Linked DNA regions of Homo sapiens: all the other regions are linked to region 1. The links are contacts of gene promoters, found by promoter capture Hi-C in blood cells and fetal thymus (Javierre and others, 2016). All regions are on one chromosome and are shown on one strand. The core of a region is centred on a gene start or on the middle of the fragment in contact, and the rest is flanking DNA. Distances in the headings are between cores, read along the strand shown.

Region 1 (3,269 bases), core at 639-3,138:
TCCCGGAGATGGATGACGGTGATGGTTGCATAGTAATGTGAATGTACTTAATGCCATTGAACTGCACACTTAAAAAAGGTTAAGAGGGTCCATTTTATGTTAGGTGTATCTTAGCAGAACTAAAGCAAAACAGAAGGCAGTGTTAAAAACAGTGGATGACGAGCTCTCAAGGTGGTGGAGGCCATCGCCCACTTCACTTGGGGGACCCCTGCTCTCAGAAGCACACACTTCACGGGGTCACCTGGTGTTCATGCCGGCGACCTTTCTCTCCCTGCCTGTGGCCTGGCCCCAGGTCAGCATTCACCAGGTGGGGAGAGTCTGTGCAGCGCGGCGTGGGCCTTGCACGCTCCTTTTTGTGTTTGTTTGGGTTCTACTTTTCCGGACTGCGACACTTATAACTTCATTAGAAAATATCACTTTCTTCAGACCCACACATTCATTTATTAGGCACTTACGCTCCATAAAATGAAATGCACAGCAAGGCCGCTTTCATGCTTCCTTGAAGTTCTATCAACTTATTTTGGGGGCAGATTTGACCTGTCAGAGCACTTCCTCCGTGGGAGCTCCATATCTAAATATGTGCATATATAGTTTTCTACTTTACTGACGGTAGCTTTCATAAAGCCGCTTGAAGTACTTACTAAAAATCCATCTTAAGACTCTTTCTGCATTTTGGGAGGCCGAGGCGGGTGGATCACCTGAGGTCAGGAGTTTGAGACCAGCCTGGCCAACATGGTGAAACCCGGTCTCTACTAAAAAATACAAAAAATAGTCGGGCATGGTGGCGGGTGCCTGTAATCCCAGCTCCGTACTCCAGAGGCTGAGGCAGAAGAATCGCTTGAACCCAGGAAGCAGAGGTTGCAGTGAGCCAAGGTCGCGCCATTGCACTCCAGCCTGGGTAACAAGAGTGAAACTCTGTCTCAAAAAAAAAAAAAAAAATCTTCCCCACACATAATGTGGCAGGACAGGAAACACTAGGATTCCTCCAGTTTATGGGGAGATTGGGAGAGCTGAGGCTTCACAATGACACAGCCGGGTATGGAAAACACCAAAAGAAATATGCCTTTTTGGATGACAATACTCCACCCCAATTTCCAAGTATGCTACAACTTTTCCTCAGCCTCGATGGGAGGTATTTACAGTGAGTGGTAGAAGCTTTACTGCAATGCCCTGGTAGACACAGGCTCCACCAGGCTTGGCTTCTACACTCTCACTGGGTCTATGGATGAGCACAGAAGCCAGGTTTCTGGCTCACAGAGAACCTAAGTGCTGAGTTTATATATAAAGTGCACAGTGTGAATAATTAAATATGAAAACGTGTACACACCAAACAGGACATTTTTACTTAATGCCAAAGAAGCACAAACGACCCTTTCTTTTGGGAGTTTCACAAGCATTTCTGCTCAACAGTAATCCCCCAGTGACAGTGATAGTAGTGGTTTCAATATTTTGTTTATAAAAAGCAACATTATAAAATGCCCTGAAAGGTCTTGGCTTCTTTTGTGAGCTCTGAACTATTCAGAAATTCAGCTTGCTATCTGGGGACAACAAATAAATCCCTACTCTAAAAAAATGGGATTCGGGTTTTTCTCCTGTGCTGCTTCCTGGCCTTAACGCTTCCTGGGGACTTACCGTCATTTGCTCAGTTACGGTTTCTATGGGATGAGTGGGGAAGCCGCGTGGTGAGGAAGCCTGGCTCGCACCCGGCCTGCGCTCTCTCGGGCCTGGCCGCATCGGCCACCAGGGGGCAGTGTTGTCATTCGCTGGCGACGCCGCCCCGCCCCGAGCGGATGCCACCCCGTTTCCAGCCTCCGGTGCTCACCGTAAGCTCTGTTATTATTATCTTTTGATTTATAAAGCGCCGTTCCTCAGCAGATTCCCCGCCCCCCAGCTGCTTCCGAGAAAGCTCGCAGAAGCGTTCGTGCGCAGGCGCGGAAGCCCCGCACAGCACGCGGTGGGCCCGGTTCGGGGGGGCGCACGGCCTGGGGCGTCGGGAAGAGGCTGCGGGCAGCGGGGCCTGCGGGCGCGGCGTGGCGGGGCGGGAAAACGGCTCTGTCCCGTGGGGCGCAGGCAGGAACGTGTTCCCATAAAAGACACAGGGAAGACCAACCCTGGGCGTTAGCCATCCAAACCTTCCCTCCCGTGCGAAACCCGCTGCCCTGCGGCCAGGACTGTGAGGGAAGCGATGGGAGGAACCCGGGAGCCCGCGAAGGCCGGGCCCCAGAGTCCGGGCGCCCCTGAGCGGGGCGGAGGGGACAAATAGAACCTTTTTAAGGACAGCTGAAAGAGATTATAAGCGCGGTGTGCTGGGACTTTGGAAAGGGCGCGAGTCATTAGTGGGGGCGAATCAGAGGGGAGTATGTTGACGGGATAATAACAAAAATAAAGAGGCTTGATAAGAAAGACACGGCTTTTGGAGTCAAAGGGAAAATCCGGGACAATGAGGGTTGGCAGGTTCCTGGGACACAAACCAGGAAAAACAGGGCCACACCGGAGCGGCCTGCCTGGCTCCAGCACAGCCGGTGCAGAAGCTAATTTTGTTCCGAGTCCTCCTAGCTCAACAAACATGCCGCCATAGCACCTATTTTCTTTTAGGTAATGCTCACAACAACCTAGCAAAGTGGGGATCATCTTCACCACTGTACAGATGAAGAAATTGAAGGTCAGACATTCAAGGTTATGTGGCCACATGAGAGAAATACCAGAGCTGGGATGAAGACTCAACGGCTCTCAGACACCAGGTTGCTTCTTGAGAGAAGCCGGATGGATGTGCATGCAGGGAGGTGAGCCTCAAAGCAGGTCCAGCTTTCTCCCGTGAGTGTTCCAGTGGCTTAGGGTTAGGGTTAGGGTCCAGAGGAGGAGAGGCGTCCAGAGCTGGGGCCGTCTGCGTTTTGCCTTGCTGTCCCAGAGTGGCAGCGAGGAGTGGCCTGGCCTAGAGGGTCTTTGTCTTATCTTGTGACTTGCTGTTTCTCCTCTGTCTGCAGGAGCTGGGGGAGGTTGGAGAAGCCGCAGCCCAGAAGGGGAGGGAGGACACCATGTCAGAGCTTGCTGGAGCAAGCTTTGGAGGAAGGCCACAGGGGACATTGTCACCAAGGGCCACGGCAGCGTGCACCCTGGGTTAGAGAAAGGGGCAAATTATGGATATGAAAAATGCTTCCCTCAATGAAAAGGACCCTGCTGAGACAGGATGGCTGTGGGCCAAATACCCCTACAGTGCCTGATTCTTTTATCTTATTATTTATTTAAACAAGACCAGCATTTTGCTTTAG
Region 2 (3,465 bases), core at 881-3,380, 930 kb after region 1:
AATTATTTTTAGTTTTGTCATCACAGACCACGCTATTACTCCCTCAGAAATTTGAATACGCATCTTTTCTTTTTCTTTTTTTTTGAATATGCACCTTTTCAATTGTACAGACTTGCCTTTAAGCTCAAACACTGCCCTAATTAAGGACTGAAGTTGCTCTGTCGATGAATGGGAAAGTGTCAGAGTAGATGCGGGTCATGTGTTTTGAAAACATGTAAGCAGGCAGTGTTTAACAAGGGTGGAAAGACACACTGTGGAGACATTGGGTTGAAGGACAGAACTTTGGTCATTATTTTATTCTCTATGGGAAGGAAACATTATGTATACATAATGACACAGTGAACAATGAAAGAAATGTAGCCTGTATTTTTTAAATAATAAGTGCCATTTATGTGTGGAATTGGGGTCAGCTGGTTAATTATAAATGAAAGCTTAACACAAATATAGTTTATCCCTTCGGACAGATTGATGTACTCCACGCTAAGGGAAGGGAGGGAGAGGCAGAGAGACAGGAAGAAATGAAGGAGGGCAAATGGGTTTAGCAAAGGCATGCGCTGTAAATATGGGAGGCGGGTATCTAGTCATTCTACAGTTAATTACCTAAAGATTCCTGAACCCAGACTTTTTAGTCCCTGGTTTGTCACCCCGGCGGCATCATCAGCCTGAGCTGGCTTCCTGGGATTTTGCACTTCACTGTTATGATTTACGAATAGGATAAGTTATGACTGACCCTTCTTGACTCCTGCCACCTGTCTGTCAGTTATCTTTTAAAGTACAGTTAGGGTCTCGGATTTCCAGAACTGGGGCTGGGATGGCCTTTGAGTGTCAGGCATTCCTGTTCTTGGTGGAGGTGGACTGCTCAGCCTCAGGTCCCAGTGCTGGGCCCGAGGAGGGACAGCGCGAGGTGTGCTGGCACCTGCAGTCTTCTTTCTTGCCACCGCATAGGACATCACTAGACAAAAGACATCAAAATCAGATGCTGTTGTCCCACGTTGCCATCTCTCTCCTCAAATCAGTGTCCCAATATTCAGGCCGACTTCGGTTCATCCTGTTTTAGCTGTGCCCACTAGAATTTAAAATGTGGCCGTGCAGCTCCTGACTCTGCTGAGGGTGCCTCGGAACCAGAAGACTGTAGAGCTGCTTTTCTCCCAGGGGAGAAACTAATGATTTGCAGAAGCTAGTAATTTAGAGTCTATGGAACTTGCCCCAGGCTCTCCCTTCCCTCCTGCTTTCAGTGGTACTGAGGAGCTGTATTTAATCTGAACAGAAAATTCCATTTTCTTCTGATGATTTTGTGACTATATGAAAATGGAATTAAGGGATTGTAGATTTCTTCCCCACAAGCATATTTTAAAATCCAGAGTAAAAATAAAAACTTTCGCAGAGTAATTGAGAATAAAGGTGAGAAGTTTTCTAATAATACTTTAAAAAATTCTCATATACAGATAAATTAGAAGAAGCATGAAGACTTTTCCTTAAAGAAATGTTCCTTTCCCTGCACTTTGAATAGATGGACAAAATTAGTATGCAGGGACAGATCCAACTTTTGTGGGAGCTCATACACTTTGGTGTCGGTGCGGAGGGGGTGGTTCTTCTATAGAAAAAGAATGCAAAAATATCTCCCTTTTGCAGAATGTTCACATTCTGCACGTGTGAGCTGCTGTTCTCCTCACCTGGGCCTGGAGAACATGGGTGAGATGCTGAGCCCCAGGGCTTAGGCCAGCTGCCTCTGCGTATGGAGGCTGTGTGTGCCCCTCAGCTGTGCCAGGGAGGAGTCACAGCAGACGGCGTGCTGCCATCCTAATCTCTGTGGCACACAGGAGAATGTCCCCACCCCCAAGGAAGTCCCCATGCTAATTCTAGAATACGTGGCTATGTCACCTTACATGATAATCCAGAGACTTTGCAAATGGGATTGAGTGAAGGGTCTGGAGATGGTCCTGGATTTTCCAGGGAGCCCTAATGGTAACCACAAGGTCCTTATAGGAGGAAGGCAGGAGGGTCAGAGTCAGAAAAGGAGCAGTGAAGACGAAGCGGGGTCAGGGTGATTCAAGGAAGGGGCTGCGAGCCAAGGGGTGTAGGCGCCTCTAGAAGCTGGACAAGGCAAGGGAACGGGTTCTTTCCGGGAGCCTCTAGAGGCAGCCAGCCCTGCCCACACCAAGAACGTAAGAGGATCGACACGTATTGTTTTAAACCCCTACACCTGCGTTAATGTGTTAGGCTGGACTGGCTCCAGCCTCTCCCCTCTAGCCTCTCAGCAACCTCCACAGTTAGGCCCTCCTGGAGACCCCTCCTGGCTGCCTCAGGCCATCTCCTGTACATCCCTCCTCCTCCCCTCACCCAGCTTGTTCTTTCTCCCCACCCCCATCTTCCTTATTTTTCTTCTTTTCTTTGCAACCTCAAAACATAAACCCTCAAGCTCATTTCCGCAGCCTGATGTGCAGTCTTCCTCTCTGTCTTGTGTCTCTCCTCTCACCCATGCCTCCATGGGGGACAGAAGGCTACACCGTGTGGCTCTGGCAGCCCCTCACTCCACACAGTGTAGGCATGTGCTGTTCTATCACACATGGACACTAAGAGATCTTGTCAAGTAGACAGAGACTAAGAGGACCTATGTGTTCATGACACTTTTTAAAGGTCTGAGCTGCCCATTCAGCTTTGCATGAAAATGGAGATTGGGAGTTTTGACCACCCCATGACTGTGGCTTGTTGTGAGTGTCTGCTGTGAAGTGGCACTGCCTCTTCACAATATCGTTGGAATTCCATTTGGCCAGGTGACAAGAAAGTATTCACAAGCCTAAGGAGGAACTTATCTGCTCCTTCCTGAGGAAATATGTGCCCCCACCAAAAAAAAAAAAAAAAAAGGGAAACCAGGCCTCAGTGTGCCACAGAGCAGCACTGCCACTGGAGGCCGCCCTCTGTCCAGGGTCGCGCACACGTGGGCACTGGGGCCGGATGGCCCCCATGCCTGCCCTTCTCAGAGTGGGCTGTGCTGCACTCTGAGAAGCGTCTCCACCTCAATACCAACCCTGTAGACTTGGCTTAAAGCAGCGGTCCTGACTCAGCTCACCTCCCGGCCATCTCATTTCCTTACTCGGGAGAGCGGTGATTCTGTGTATTTTTCTAATAAGCAAAGTCCCCAGAGATGAAAGAAGCCACCACAAAATACTCAACTCTTTCTGGAAACAGAAGAAAGACTGCTGCCCCTATTTGCAGGGAGGGAGGATGTTCTTCCCGAAACACCTGAGTGTGTGTTTGGACCACACGGGTGGAGGACAGTTCAGGGAAACCAGGTTTGCGTTTAAAAGATCTTGGTTCCAACCTCATAGGTGTTGTACACCCATTCCAGGCCTTGTCTCCAGCGCTACCTCACATGTATACCAGCTATAAATACTGCAGTGTATGTATATGTGTAGATACACACAAAGCTAAAGTATACATTCACCAAGATAAACTGTGCTTGCC
Region 3 (3,432 bases), core at 929-3,428, 520 kb after region 1:
GTTTACCACCAAAATCTTTTACAGACATAGGCATTATGTAGCTATCTTTCTATTATTTAGGTAAAGGTGACAGTTATATTCTGCTACTCCAGAACCATCAGTACAGCATTTCCATTTTGACCCTGGTTTTCAGACTTTCCAAATATGCATTTCAATTTTGATGTTTTTAAAAATTGAGCTTATGTTGCTTTTCTCTATCTAATGGGATGTTTTTGTATCCTGAAGACATGAAGTTGCACTATGGCGATCTCACTGACAGTACCTGCCTTGTGAAGATCATTAATGAAGTAAAGCCCACAGAGATCTACAACCTTGGAGCCCAGAGCCACGTCAAAGTAAGCATTTTCATTGGGATTTCTCTGGCCGTGTTTCTGTGGCGTTCTGTATTTTACTTGTGTCTGCTGCTTCTCAGTGTAGTAATATAATCACTGGTCTTAGTCTTCAAGTTGAATTGTCAGTGTTAGTTTAAGTATTAATCCTAATTGAAGTACTCATAGATTTTTTAAAAGTCTCTTGTCTGTTATTAAACAATATAATAAAACCTTACCACTAATATTGGAATAGCAGTATTTGTTTATTTTGGGTTGTTCCCTGTAGCCATGAGGCCCATGGATGTGTTTTCTGCCATTTCAAATAACAGATTGTGAATTAAATGTTTTGTTAAAATGTTGGAAGATGTAACTAAGTAAAACCTTTATGTTAATATCAATTTTTGGTAGCGGCTAAATTACTGGCTGAGAGAATATTTTTGAGTCCCAATAATATGTTAAAATTAGCTGAATTAACTTTTTAATTGTGAATGGTAAAAATCATTGGAAGAAAGCTTTTTAGTCTCCCTCCTCCTCAGTGTGATATAGCCAGTGTGGATTTTCCCCTCTATTCGCATTCTGGAAGGAATCACGGTAAACATCACAGGCCCATCCTTAGGGTTCTAGTGGTCTGCTTAATTCAAGTTTTTGTTGCCGTGTCCTCCTGCTCACATGAATAAGTGAAATCTGAAGCCATGAATGATAGGAGTTCTATTTAGATACTTGTTCAGACAGGATGGTTAGTGGACCTGAGAAATAAAAGCAAGTAACTCTTAAGTTATAAAAGCCCCTCAAAAGTCCAGAAAATGTATGAGGTTTTTTTTTGTTTGTTTGTTTGTTTGTTTGTTTTGCTATTTAATGAACAAGTACAGGAGTCTTATTTCAGAAAGTTTTTCTTAGGTGATTGGCTATTTTTCTGTATCCCCATGTTTGCATAGAATGGAAGCTAAATGCCTATTCTATATACCTCTGCTTGTTTAAGGAAGAAATCATGAACTAGATAAAATGAAACCAAGTGGAGAACATGGTGAGAGAAACATAGCAATAAACTCAATCTTATAACTGATTGCCAGTCTTCATTATATGTATTTCTTTCAAATGTTAACCTTGAAGGATGGCTACATATCGATGAATGATGATACCTCATATCTGCCTGTGCTGTCTATGAAGAAACATTTTTCTTTTCTTAATCTGTGATGATTCTGTTCTATATCCAGACTTTCACCAAAGTCTGTGAAAGGTATCAGGGTCTTTAGGTTACAGCTTAGCTATTTTTCTAAATGATTCTCCATGTGTTTTTTCATTTTGGAAAGTCTCTTATGCATACTGTGTGCTTGAGAAATTACATCCCTTCTTTCCTATAGAGAAGCGGTGACTTTTTATCATTCCAGGAATGAAGACTTTATTTTTCCCTAATTGAGGTAGTCAGTCTATCTTCCACATTATAAGTCATCTGGCTGCTTCTTGACCTTCCTGACCAGCCATGAGAGTATCTTCCAGACAAAACAGAATGTTTTGGAATGAACATTCTGTTATTCAGTTTCCTTTAGATTAAGAAGTTTCCTTTGTAATCATAGATAGTTTATCACCTCTAGGAGCTGAAAATTGTAATGAAAGATGCAGAAAATTTTTATAAAGGTTTATTTATAGAAGACCTTCCCCTTGTCATTTAGTATTAAATGGGCTGATTCTTTCCTTTCCCCAAAACATATTTATAGTTCAGAAATATGTTATAGTTGGTTTTCTTAGTTGTAGTGATCATGATAGTGTTTTGTTATCGTTCTGGTGTGGTTGTACTGTAAGTAATAGAAATCATAGGCTATTGAGTTGGTTCCCTCTACATTGCTACACATGTGAAGTTTATCTTTTTTTATGGTATTTTGGCTGCTTTTCTTAATGGTTAGTTAATGGGCGGAAATGGCACTCTTCAGTGAGAATTTTGGTTTGTAAGGTCATTTAATCTTCCAACAAATATTTGTTGAGTGCATACCTCATGCAAGGTGTCATGCATGGTACAGTACGAAAAGCTGTGTCAGATACACCTCTGCTGTGGGGGTTTCAACTCTAGGAGGGGTGATTGGCACAAGTGTCTGACTCTTTAGAGGAGGGTAAGAGAGAACTTCCGTCTGGGGGTAGATGGATAGTGCGAGGCGGAACCGACACTGGCTCTGGTGTTGAGGTATAGAGAGGACAGTTACAGAGTTACAGACGTAGCGGGAAACTAATAGTTGAAACGGGGGTAATAATATGAGGCAAAGAGAAGTGGGAAAACTTGGTACATGTTTGCAGCATCATGAGCATTCGAGATGAGCTGAGCAGAACCAGTATGAGGAGAAGTGTGAGGTAAGGTCAGGTAGGAAGCTGGGCTGTGCCTGGGCAGCTACCCATGTTTTGAACGGGGGAAGATATATTCAGTGATGACTTCTAGAGGTAAGAGTCTAGAGGTAGGGCTTAAGAAGAGCTAGGAAGTTGCTGGATGAGGATGGTGTCACTAGAAATGGGGGTGGGAGTGAGGAATGAAACAGGATGCCAGGTGGGGCTGATTTCTCTATGCACTGATGTGGTCACTAGAGAAGAGGGAAACCCAGGGCTCCAGTGCCCAGGGGACCAGAAGGTCAATAGAACCAGTACTAGAAACCGACATTCAAGGAGGAACTTTTGGAGTGGGGTTGGAGAAATAAGTTCCCTTTTGGAAACATTTTACTGGCGTTACTTGAAGGACATTCAAGGGAAGCAGGCTATAAGGTAGCTTCAAATATGCTGTGAGTTTTGAGAGAGATCTAGGGTACAGAGCTGTATATTCAGCTCTTGAGGTCTTAAAGATGCCAAGTAGTAACTGGAGAAAGACGGGTAGAGGACTGAAGATTGAATCTTGGAAACAGGTTGATAGTGAGAGGGTGGGATGAGGACAAGTAGGGCTGATGACTGAAGTGGAGGAGGCAGAGGGTGGGATTGTGCCATGGCAGTCAAGAAATTGGGTCATTGCAAGCAAGAGGGGATGAGGCTAGGAGAATGAGGACCAGGAAAAGTCACCGGCCTTGCCAGTTAGGCCAGCGAGGATTTGTGACGTTTTAAAGAAACATTTTAGTGATGTGACAGAAGAACTTGGCCAGCGTGCAAGGGG
Region 4 (3,641 bases), core at 1,121-3,620, 540 kb after region 1:
ACATTTAGCTTTGGTATTTATTATAATTTACAGACAATTACAGTAGAACCTGTTGTGCCCCAAAATTGCTCACCAGGGAAAAATACAAACAAACCTATTTCATGCCGTAACTATATTGACTGTATAGGATGTGATTATGAAAACTAAGCTTCTTAATACTGTACTTTCACTCAAGTACAACTTTGCAGAAATTTCTATTTAACGAATTGATGCTTTTTTGTGGGGAAGGGGAAGTAGCTGTTTGGAGAAGTAGTTAAGTTTAAAACACATATTTGATTTGTATAATAATAGACCATTATTGGCCACTGTAGTAAATGTATGCTAAATGAGAGTTTATAATGTAAAAATAGTGGTTAAACGTAGATGACTTAGAGAACAAAAAGTAAATGTTTTAAAAATGTGTCTTTATAAGCGACAGTATTGTAGTATCCCAAGCACAGCACAAATTCCACCTATAGCAGAAAAAAAATAGTTAAAAGTTTTAATTTTCAAAGCGTCCTTTTTTGTTAATTTTTTACTTGAATAAGGGATTTCTGTTGATTTGTAGAGTTTCTAAAAGTCAAAGAAAAATACTTATATAATAATAAAACTTTTCATCTTAACTGTCATTGTATTTAAACCTTGGATTCCCAAGTAAAAGATTCCAGGATTTATAGCTAGCATAGATTCAATTATTTTAAAGCCATCCAGATTCCATTTTCAATTTAGTGGCATTTCATACTGTCAAGGTGGCAAACTTGTTCCTAAGTTAGTTTTTTTAAGCTTATTATCAGCCATAGTTTAACCCCAATCAAGACATTCCTAAGAGGTTTACTCCGAGCTTTTATAAGTTTATTTATATGTCTTGTGGAAATTTTCAGTTCAGTGCAGGGTTTGCTTTAAGTGTTTCTCAACTAAGCGTATAAAAATTAGACTTTTTCTACCTTTTATGAAATTACCATAAGGATTTAAGATTTTGTTTCTAAATAAAGTTATAAACTACGTACAAATTCTTAGATTGGTGTTTATCCTTGTTAATCTATGATAGCTAAAAATATTTCAAGTAGATTACTTTCTTTATTACTAAATTTTCCTTATTTGAAGAGTAATTATAAAAATAATTTATGTGGCTGGGCGCGGTGGCTTACGCCTGTAATCCCAGCACTTTGGGAAGCTGAGGCAGGTGGATCGACTGAGGTCAGGAGTTTGAGACCTGCCTGGCCAACATGGCGAAACACCATCTCTACTAAAATATAAAAATTAGCCGGGTGTGGTGGTGGGCACCTGTAATCCCAGCTACAGGGAGGCTGAGGCAGGAGAATCACCTGAACCTGGGAGACGGAGGTTGCAGTGAGCGAGCCGAGATCGTGCCACTGCACACCAGCCTGGGCGATAAAGAGATTTCGTCTCAAAAAAATAATAATAATAATATTATGTGTAATTTTCTTATTGTCCCAGTTTAGTTTTTTTTTTTTTCTTAAAACATAAGGGAGCATTGAAACAGCTTTATAGTTTGTTTTCACATGCTTTGGTAGTTTGAAAGTTGTTTTGTTTTGTTTGTTTTTATAGTCGTACTAAATTTAGAAAGTACCTGCAAATAAATTCTATTTAATGGTAACCATTTATTTATTTGACATGTTTCTTTTGTTTGTCACTATCCTAACCATGTAGACTGGTAATTGCCTTGCTACGAGAAGATCCTAGTCTTTTCTACAGTCAAACAGCTAGGTTTTAGGGCGGAACTGGAGCCTAGAGTAAAGGCTCACTTTCTTAACTCTTCACTGGGAGCTAAAGCTCTTCTTCCCGTGGCCTCTCCCTTGCTTTGTCAAAGTATGACATGGATGGATTGCTTGGAATTCTTTCAAAGCCTTTCCTGTGTAATAATGATGGCAAAGATTTCAGGCATTTGTCAAGGGCCACTAGCATGTGTGTGACAGCAGTTTAAGGGGGGAAAACAGTGGATTTATTACTAATAAAATATTAAAACTCTTATATTTAAAGCCAGGCATAATTTACATTCAGTTTCACCCCTCGTCGTTTTAGCTGTCCATTTTCTACTTAAGCTGCACCCTCTTTCTCTTCCCAGAAGCCTTCATCCTCCTTTTAGCCACCCCCGCACCACCATCTCCTTCCCTAGATAGGTGATAATGCTCAGTCGCCGAGGGGCTTTGACTAGAGCCATCTGTTCTACTCTCTCTCAAGAACAACAGACAAGGCATTATTCTGTGGGGGCTTGTGTATACAATTATCTACAATAATAAAATATAAAACTACAGAGTTTTTAGATTCCAAAAATTCAGTGATCTGTAACAGCTTCCATTGGGTTTCTGGGTGTTCTTGTAATTCATTTTTTCATTTATTACCTGGAATTTGCAAACTTTTTTTTTCTTTTCAAATATATTTTCTTTATATTTTTGTACAGCATGATATCATTAAAATGATACCTGTTGAATTCACATTGTCTGTTAGTATATATACATATTATATATCTGTCTTTAGTGACTATATAAAAAAGACAACTATTCTTTGACTCTTAAATATATGGGCATTTTTATATATAAAATTTACAGTCACTAACTTAATTAGTCTCTAGATGTGTCTGTGTACACATACATGTAATATACGTACACACAACTAAAATATAAAGTCATGTGTTCATTGTGACTTGTTTGGAATTTTAGTGAGATAACTGTACTTGGAGCTTTTATCCATCTGTTTGAATGGAGAACCTCCCTTTTTGGCATAGGTCAAATAGGTTTTCACTGACCCCAAGCTAGTGAGAATTGTTTTTTTCTATTTGCTTTTGATTAGTCCTAGAATTACTGAGTAATATGTGGACTTCCCAGCTAAAGAACCTATTTAAATGTTTTTTGGAACTAACTATGCCGATTGAATTGTGTTTGACCTACTGACAGCTGTTACTTAGCTTGTCATGCTCCTTAAAATGGCAAATCATTAATGTAGTCCTTTCCACTACATTAGTTAACATAAAGTGTCTTATTTCTGAAATAGACACGGTGAATGTTTCCCTGACTAGGTTGTGCTTAAACAGTGTTCAAGTTTGTAAATATGTTGTTTTCTGAAACAAAAACAAATTCTAGTAATAAAAACAAATTAAATATATATGTTTTTACTTGGAAATCATAAAATATAGTTTATTTCTCTGTACAGGTCCCTGCTTTAAGACACTGGATGTATAACAACAAATCACATGGATATTTACTTCTTTCATTTCACGCCTCTTTTTAATAAACTTTCTGTTTCACATCATTAAAATTAAGATCTACCCTTTTACTCTGCAAACTGGAGGAGAGTTATATAATGTCATAGCTGTACCTCTAATTAATAATGGGGTTGAACTCACTTTATAGATTTAGAAATTCTGGCGTTTCTTTCTGTCAAATGCCTCTTCCTATCCTTTGTCCATTCAGTTTTTATTGCTAATTTGTAGGAATTCCTATTAACTTTTTATCAGGTATATATGTTGCAGATATATTCTTCCAGTTGTCACTTCTATGCTTGCTCTATCTGTGATGTCCTTCACAGAACGTAAATCTTAAATTTCATTGAGGTCAAACCTCTCTCCCCCTTTTTTGAGGGGACTTGAGAATTCTTCTTTTGGATAGCATACTTTCCACAATTGGTGGATGTCTTTCAGCTTC
Region 5 (3,601 bases), core at 84-2,583, 990 kb after region 1:
AGAGCCTGCAGAAAGCAGAGACACTAAAGCCAAGGTTGGACCCGGAGAGTGGGAGGAAAAGAGCAAGTGAGGCAAGGCAAGGACAGCACAGGGAACACCAGGCGAGGGCTCCGGACCTCCAGGAGGACAGGGTGAGCGTCCCCGGGCACTCGAGCATGCCGTGCACATGCCATCATGGGGGTAGAAGGCGCCATTTGCACAGTGATTGAAAAGTGCCTTCTGCCATCAAGACAGCATCCGTGGGATATTTTAGCGCTGATGGGTGCAGGAAGCTATGCTAGGCACAGCACGGGTGACTGAAAATGGGCACCATAGATTCTCTGCCCATGGGGGGCTTGCATTCAGTTTGGGGAAGGAAGTGTGCTGGATGACAGGGTATAAGAATCAAGCAGGCTGGGCGCGGTGGCTCATGCCTGTAATCCCAGCACTTTGGGAGGCCGAGGTGGGTGAATTACGAGGTCAGGAGTTCGAGACCAGCCTGACCAGCATGGTGAAACGCCGTCTCTACTAAAAATACAAAAATTAGCTGGGCGTGGTGGCACATGCCTGTAATCCCAGCTACTCATGAGGCTGAGGCAAGAGAATCGCTTGAACCTGGGAGGTGGAGGTTGCAGTGAGCCAGGATCACGCCACTGCACTCCAGGCTGGGCGACAAAGCAAGACTCCGTCTCGTTTAAAAAAAAAAAAAAAAAAAGGACCAGAGTCTGAATCTCATCCTGATACACCCCACTTCCTAACCTCGTGACTCTGGGCAAGTTACTCACTAAGCCTCAGCTTCCTCATCTGCAGAATGTAGGTGCTGGCCAGGCCCTGAGAGCCAAAGCTGTCAGAGCTTGCAGTGGGTGCAAGGCTCACAGTACAGGTGCAAGAAACGGCAGTGGGGGTGGCCGTGAACCCTGGCTCTGTGGTCACCAGAAAACCTCACAGTCCCTCCTCTTCGCCATAAATCAGGGACCTTGGGATCTCCTTCCTGGGCGGGCAGCAGGGATTAGAGCAGCTCCCTGTGGGACGGTACCTGGCTCCTCCCGACAGGAGATGCTGAGAAATGTTGGCTGACTTAGAGCACAAATTTGGTCTTCTAAAGTGGAGAGAATTTCAGCTGGGGAACTTGGGAAGGGAGGAAAAAGTGCAAGGTGGTGAGAAAGGCAGGAGCAAAGTGCAGGCAGCAGCAAAGTTTTGAGCCTGTGGGGAGTGCAGCCTAGCGGCTCATATGCAGCCTATTTATGGCAATGGTGAGACGCCAACAGGAAGGCAGGAAGGCTCTGGCTGTGTTGAGGGCAGGTTTGGATGCCCAGCAGAGGGCTTCCAGGTGGCAATCTGCAGTCCACCTGACAGGCCCTAGTCACAGCTGCAGTGCCATCCGCTATCGTTCACACGTTCGCTCGGGTGGAATCAGGGGTCTCCCCTGGCGGTGGAGGGCCCTCCCCGCGTGGGTCCCTGGAGGAAGAGTGGATCCTCATACTGGTGGCTGCAGGCTACTAGTATCTGCAGGCTGAGGTGCCGTGCTGACCTACCTCAGACCGGGGGTTCCTTGCCAGAAGAGCAGGCCGAGGACACGGGGCAATGTCAGTCACAGCGCTGGGCCCTGGGGCTCAGAGGGGAGGTGTCTGGGGACAACGGGGGCTGGGTAAGGGCCGTCCGCCCTGGGAGCCTTGTCAGCTGAGGAGTCAGGCTTGGCCTCTAGAGAGGGCCCACCTGCAGGGTGCTTTGCTCCTTTGTTTCCTCTCAGGGTTTTTAAAAGGACTTTTTTTTTAGAGGGGAGGGGAGCTGGGAAGAGACTTTCAACTTTTTTTAATTTTTAAACAATTTTATTGAGGTATAATTCACACATCATACAGTTCACCCACTTAAAGTATATGATCAATGGGTTTTAGTCTGCTCAGTGTGCAGCCATCACCACAATCAACTCTAGGGCATTTTCATCACCGGAGGCAAAAACTCCATAACCATTAGCAGTCCCCAGTGTCCCCCCCACCGTGGCCCAGGTGGTCACCTCTCCACCCCTGTCTCTATGCATCTGCTGATTCTGAACTTCCGCTGTCCCCACCTAGCTATAGGTGTGTATCCTTTGACCAGCATCCCCACAACTGCCTAAGGCCCTGGTAACCACATCCTACTCTACTAAAAGGACTCTCGAAGGCTCTCCTTGCCTCATTTATGCCATGGGAGCCGAGGAAGGCATGAGCACCTTGACAGCCACCTGGAGATGAGCACAGTTGCAGCAACAGAGCCTCGGGGGCTCAGCTGCCCCGTGGGCAGTCAGGGTTCGTTTTCAGGAAGGCGTAAGGAAATTGCATTTCCTTACAATGCCTGTGTGTCCTGCCAAATGGGCTGGGTCTCAGGGACACCAAGCTGAGTGAGATGCTGTCCCTGCCCCCCACACTTGTCTGGTCTGGTGAATCAATCCTCAGACACCTTCTATGAGGGCACCCTTGGAGATTCCGGCACATCTCACCTGGCTGAGGACCTCACCAAGCTCCACTTTTCACAAACTCCACAGGATGTGTTGAGAATCACCAGTTTCTCTGGGGAGACTCAGGGGAAGAGACTCAGGATAAGAAAATAAAAGGAAGTATGGACCGGCTCTGCAGGATGCCCCCCTCGTCAGCAGATCCCTCATGATGTGGTTGTGTTAACTCTGCTAAGACCAGGGCTGTTTAAAAGCCCCCAAAGATTCTCTGTGAAGAGCTATTTTAAAATAGGGGAAAAAACTCAGTGAGGAAGGGGACTCCATAAGGAGTAAAGGGAAGGGGCTTCGTGGGGCCCGGCTTTAGGAGCAGAGATCCGAGGCCCATCCTGATCTTCCTGTTGGACTTGGAGAGACAGACCGTCCAGGCCCAGCTTGCCTGTCGCCCACATGGGACCAGCACAGCTGCCCACCTGTGCTATTCACAAAGACACAAGAAGCCATCATGAAGCAGGCTTTATAAAGTCAAAATATTACTCCACGTCTGTTATGCATAAGGACTCAGGACGATGGTCACCATGGAACCCCGTTCTCCAACCTAGAGGACAAAGACCAGGTTGACCTTCACCTTAGGGGGAAGGTGGAGATTTTGAAGGAGAAATTTATTTTCTCCCTGACAAAACCAAAATTTTCAGACAAATCTGAGCAACAGTTATAGAACCTTTGGGGTAGGTTTAAAGACGGAAACTGGCCGGGTGTGGTGGCTCACGCCTGTAATCCCAGCATTTTGGGAGGCCGAGGTGGGCCGATCATTTGAGGTCAGGAGTTTGAGACTAGCCTGACCAACATGGTGAAACCCTGTCTCTACTAAAGACACAAAAATATTAGCCGGGCGTGGTGGCACATTCCTGTAGTCCCAGCTGCTTGGGAACCTGAGGCAGGAGAATCTCTTGAACCTGGGAGGTGGAGGTTGCAGTGAGCCGAGATCACACCACTGCACTCCAGCCTGGGCGATAGAGTGAGACTCTATTTTTTTCTTAAAAAAAAAAAAAAAAAAAAAAAAAGATGGAAACTGCCCAGATTTCAAGAGAATTGAGGCTTGCTGCGCTCCCCTTAGTTTCTGAAGAGCAGGGTTCCAAGTGAGCGAGGACAGGATGAAAAGGAGAGTGCTACGCAGGGCGATCTTTCTGAGCC
Region 6 (3,690 bases), core at 954-3,453, 950 kb after region 1:
AGATTCCTTTTACTCCTTCCTTTGTATTTGTCATAAAATAAATTATAGAATAAAATAAAGACATATCATGAAATTACTCATAATTGCATTACTTGGGAAGGTAAAACATAGGTATTTAACAAACATCAAAGTTTTGGGAGGAAAAGGCATTTCATAAACCTAGACATACGCAATACTGAAGGCCAGGAGACTTGTAAGTGAAGGGGCCATACCGTGGAGCCAGGTCTTCTAAATCTAAATCTCATATCTTTCCATATTAAGAAAAAAAAAAAGCCAGGCACAGTGGTTCACGCCTGTAATCCCAACACTTTGGGAGGCGAAGGCAGATGAATCACTTGAGCCCAAGAATTGAGACCAGCCTGGGCAACATAGCAAGACCTTGTCTCTATAAGAAATACAAAAATTAGCCGCACACTGTGGTGCGTGCCTATAGTCCCATCTACTCAGGAGGCTGAAATGGGAGGATCACCAGCGTGCAGGGAGGTCAAAACTGCAGTGAGCTGTGATCGTGCCACTGCACTCCAGCCTTAGTGCATTTCTGCACAGACACACTGAGTGGTGTTTTGAAAATCAGATTCACGGCATTCTCTTTAGCACCTTCCAGCACTTTATGGTGGGGGTTGCTGGTGAGATCCCCTGGCCTCTCTGCCTGGGGCTGCCAGGGAGCTGGCGGATGCCACTCTCCACCGGAGGCCTTCCCTGGCAGTCGTAGACTGTTCCCACTGTGCGCCTGGGTCTACCGCCTGGTCCTCCTCACCTGGAGCCACACTGATTTCCATCTTGTCCTGAATGGCAGAGCTTTCATAATTTCTTACAACCTCAGATTCTGACCTCTGTAGGACCACTTTCTTCTTGAGCCATTTTGGGACTGTAGATGCTAGAACACAGCAGATTGAAAATGCAGTGACATATCCCACCATGTAACAGAATCTGTAGTAAGATGTCACCCATGGCAGCCAAGCAGAAGCTTTTATCACAGCCCAACAAGTACCAGCGTGTCTTGGCGGCAGGGTGGCAGGACACTGTGAGGAGGCAGGTGTGTAGACACAGTCCTCTTCTGCATTGGCACATGCCCTGTGCTCATCGCCTCTCGGTGGGGGAGGTGTGTGTGTGTGTATATAGGTGTGTGTATCTGTAAGTGTGTGTATTTGTAGGTGTACGTATGTGTATGAGTGTGTTGTGCACTTGTGTGTGTATGTGTGAGCATGTGTATGTATATTCGATGTATGTGAGAGTATATTTGTGTTACTTCTTTCTTTTTATCCTCCCTGCCGAGGAGGCAACAGTAAATGTGAACGGTGAGAGAGAACAGACTAGTTGTTACATTCTGTCTCACCCACTGATGTGACTTTTCTTTAGGAAACATCATCCAGGGTAACCTGTCATGAAAAGCTGCCTTTTAGGTCACTTATGTCCATTTCAGAAATGGCAAGGGCTCTGGGCATCCACCAGGCACCAGGCCCTATTATAAGAAGACCCCTTTGCAGTCATCTTTTTGTGGTTTGTTCAATGGGCACATGCTGGGCAAAGGCACTTACCAGGCAAACCATTATGTGGCTCTGGCGGCTCAAGTGATGCACCTGGAACATACGCCGTTCATGACACTTTGCCTTTATGGGCCCCTTTAACTCGAGGATCTCAAAGGGCCTCAGCAGTATGACCTTGCGTGTCCTGGCCGGGCGCCCAAGGGAGGGAGGCCAGAAGGTCCACGCTGCTTTCCGTGTGAGAAGTCAGGTCACGGTGCCGGATCAGAACTAACACCTGGCCTGCACCCTCATTGGTGTGGTACTTTGGAAGGCAGAGGTATAAGAGGAGAACTAGCAATGTTGGCAAATGCTGATAGTTGGGGTCAGGATCCCAAAACATTTAAATTCTGATAGGGGTCAGGCCCTGTTTATTTACTGCCACTCAGCTCTCTGCCTGTCCTGTTCATTAACCTGATGACTTAGAGTCATGTCTGGATGGTTTGGAAGGTGCCACGAGGAAGCAGGTGGATGAAGGGCGCACATCAAGAATTCATGGTAGCACAGAGAAATGCCTCATATAAGTGAAGTTCACCTCTGAGGCCCGGTCTTTGAATATCTGGATGCCTATTTTCTTAGGCAGTAGAATTTCCTCTTTGTGACCAGCTGAAAATATCATCTACAAAGTGCGCGTAATTTCAGTGTACAAGACTTAGCCTAATGTGTGAAATTACAGACTAGTTGAAATTAATGATCAATTTGGCAGGTATTTGTTCAATGTGGCTATGGCTTATCCAGGCTGTGACATCCAAGAACAATATATTTCATTGTCAATCTTTTATTTTGTTTTCTTTCCTTTTTTTTCCTTGTCTCCAGGAGACCAATTAATTGTTCAAAGGTAATATATAGAGATCTCAAGAGCATTTACTTTGGCACAGTCTCTGCCCCTTTGTGGTCTGGCTAACAATAAAGCTAAGATTTGTTTTGTAATGACGGTTCCAGTTGGACTGGAATTCCTTTGAAGTTCCTGAAGTTTGCTGTTGTGAGAGCTCAAGATATTATTTGACTGCAATGAAACACTCTCTGTGTATTATCAAAATATCGTATACACTGAACTGTAACAACTTGCAGTAATCAGACTTCTCCTTCGAGGTGGCCTGCGTGAGTAGAGAGCATCCACAGAGAGATGAGCTTCTCCCAACATCCATTTAGTGTTCAGTCATCACGGGCCACTCATGGATCTGAACCTTCTTACAAGGTCGATACCAACAGGTATGAGGAGCAGAGAGCAGATCAGCACGGAGCAGCATTAGCTGGGGCCCCCTTGCCTGGCCTGGCAGTGAAGATAGAGCACCATGCCAGTTGTTCAGCTTCTCAGCGCTTGCGTCAGCTGACCTAAATTATTTAAGGATGTTGTCACCTCTAAATAAATATAGTCATTGTCCTGGTCTCTATTTATATTTTAAAACTCTTTCCCAGCCCACCCCGATGGCCTAAAACAATTCATATATTTCAGTAGAAGAGGGTGTCACAGGGCTATTTGCACAGGTTTGGATCCAGTGCCAGCGTTAGCCTTCACACAAGTTACACTCCTCTGAGATGTAACTGTCTCCTGTGTATGAGTGCCAAAGTATTTGATAACCGCCATCTGTCTGCTCTCAACACAGGTTTCACAAGCACAGTGATGTCTTCCATTGTGTGCGTAACAACTGTGTGTGTGCGGAGAGAGAGGACTCTGTACGCATGCACATGTTTGGAGCTACATAAATCTGAGAAGCAGTTTTGTCTAGTGTCGTTTCAGTAAATGGGACTCATTTAGTCAGTTTGCTTTGCTGTCAGAATCATATTCCAGATATCAGAATGTGCTATGGCAGGTACTTGTTTAAAACAAGTAATAATATCCTTGTAATGTTTAGCAATACAGCTGACTGGTCTGTGTTCCATTACTTGTGTAAAAGGAAATATGTAAAGCTTTTAAAAATAAGTTTAAATGATCAAAAGAGATGCCTGAAAATATATTTTGGCACAGGAAATTACAGGAATTTATAAATGTGTCATGTGGAAAGATAATTACAAAGTTTATTTTAATCTTTTATCTCTGACTGAATCTTAAGTTAAAATATTCTTCCCGGCATCCTGTCTGGTTTTTGCCACTGTCCCTGCTTTACGTGTTACCTTTCCATGTTGATCTGAGTTGCATTTAGTTGAGGAGAAAAAAAAAAATAAA

The links. Contacts are between HindIII fragments. The CHiCAGO score rates a contact against its expected background, and 5 or more counts as called.
Region 2: a fragment that was not itself captured here is called in contact with the fragment with the promoter of LINC02521 in region 1 in 1 of 17 cell types (M1 macrophages); the score reaches 5.4 in M1 macrophages.
Region 3: a fragment that was not itself captured here is called in contact with the fragment with the promoter of LINC02521 in region 1 in 1 of 17 cell types (M0 macrophages); the score reaches 5.5 in M0 macrophages.
Region 4: a contact is called between a fragment that was not itself captured here and the fragment with the promoter of LINC02521 in region 1, in 4 of 17 cell types (naive CD4 T cells, fetal thymus, total CD8 T cells and 1 more). The highest score is 5.6, in naive CD4 T cells.
Region 5: a contact is called between a fragment that was not itself captured here and the fragment with the promoter of LINC02521 in region 1, in 5 of 17 cell types (non-activated CD4 T cells, activated CD4 T cells, naive CD4 T cells and 2 more). The highest score is 8.3, in non-activated CD4 T cells.
Region 6: a contact is called between a fragment that was not itself captured here and the fragment with the promoter of LINC02521 in region 1, in 1 of 17 cell types (endothelial precursors). The highest score is 5.4, in endothelial precursors.

Annotation. Positions count from the first base shown.
Region 1 is chr6:2,633,119-2,636,387 of GRCh38, reverse strand. It overlaps LINC02521 (long intergenic non-protein coding RNA 2521), which reads right to left and starts at 1,888. Exons shown (of 3, transcript NR_149119.1): 1 at 1,633-1,888. It overlaps LINC01600 (long intergenic non-protein coding RNA 1600), which reads left to right and starts at 1,785. Exons shown (of 3, transcript NR_131168.1): 1 at 1,785-1,823; 2 at 2,596-2,783. The HindIII fragment of the contact is 1,903 bases long and covers 1,158-3,060 here.
Region 2 is chr6:1,698,187-1,701,651 of GRCh38, reverse strand. All of the region lies in intron 9 of GMDS (GDP-mannose 4,6-dehydratase), which reads left to right. Among named protein-coding and RNA genes, the nearest start is that of FOXC1, 90 kb to the right of the region's middle. The HindIII fragment of the contact is 3,394 bases long and covers 434-3,465 here.
Region 3 is chr6:2,112,674-2,116,105 of GRCh38, reverse strand. It overlaps GMDS (GDP-mannose 4,6-dehydratase), which reads left to right. Exons shown (of 11, transcript NM_001500.4): 4 at 226-335. Among named protein-coding and RNA genes, the nearest start is that of GMDS, 130 kb to the left of the region's middle. The HindIII fragment of the contact is 2,706 bases long and covers 826-3,432 here.
Region 4 is chr6:2,095,824-2,099,464 of GRCh38, reverse strand. The region is part of intron 4 of GMDS (GDP-mannose 4,6-dehydratase); the gene reads left to right. Among named protein-coding and RNA genes, the nearest start is that of GMDS, 150 kb to the left of the region's middle. The HindIII fragment of the contact is 3,211 bases long and covers 765-3,641 here.
Region 5 is chr6:1,642,024-1,645,624 of GRCh38, reverse strand. The region is part of intron 9 of GMDS (GDP-mannose 4,6-dehydratase); the gene reads left to right. Among named protein-coding and RNA genes, the nearest start is that of FOXC1, 34 kb to the right of the region's middle. RefSeq lists an enhancer at 781-1,728. The HindIII fragment of the contact is 5,748 bases long and covers 1-3,601 here.
Region 6 is chr6:1,678,576-1,682,265 of GRCh38, reverse strand. All of the region lies in intron 9 of GMDS (GDP-mannose 4,6-dehydratase), which reads left to right. Among named protein-coding and RNA genes, the nearest start is that of FOXC1, 71 kb to the right of the region's middle. The HindIII fragment of the contact is 2,467 bases long and covers 970-3,436 here.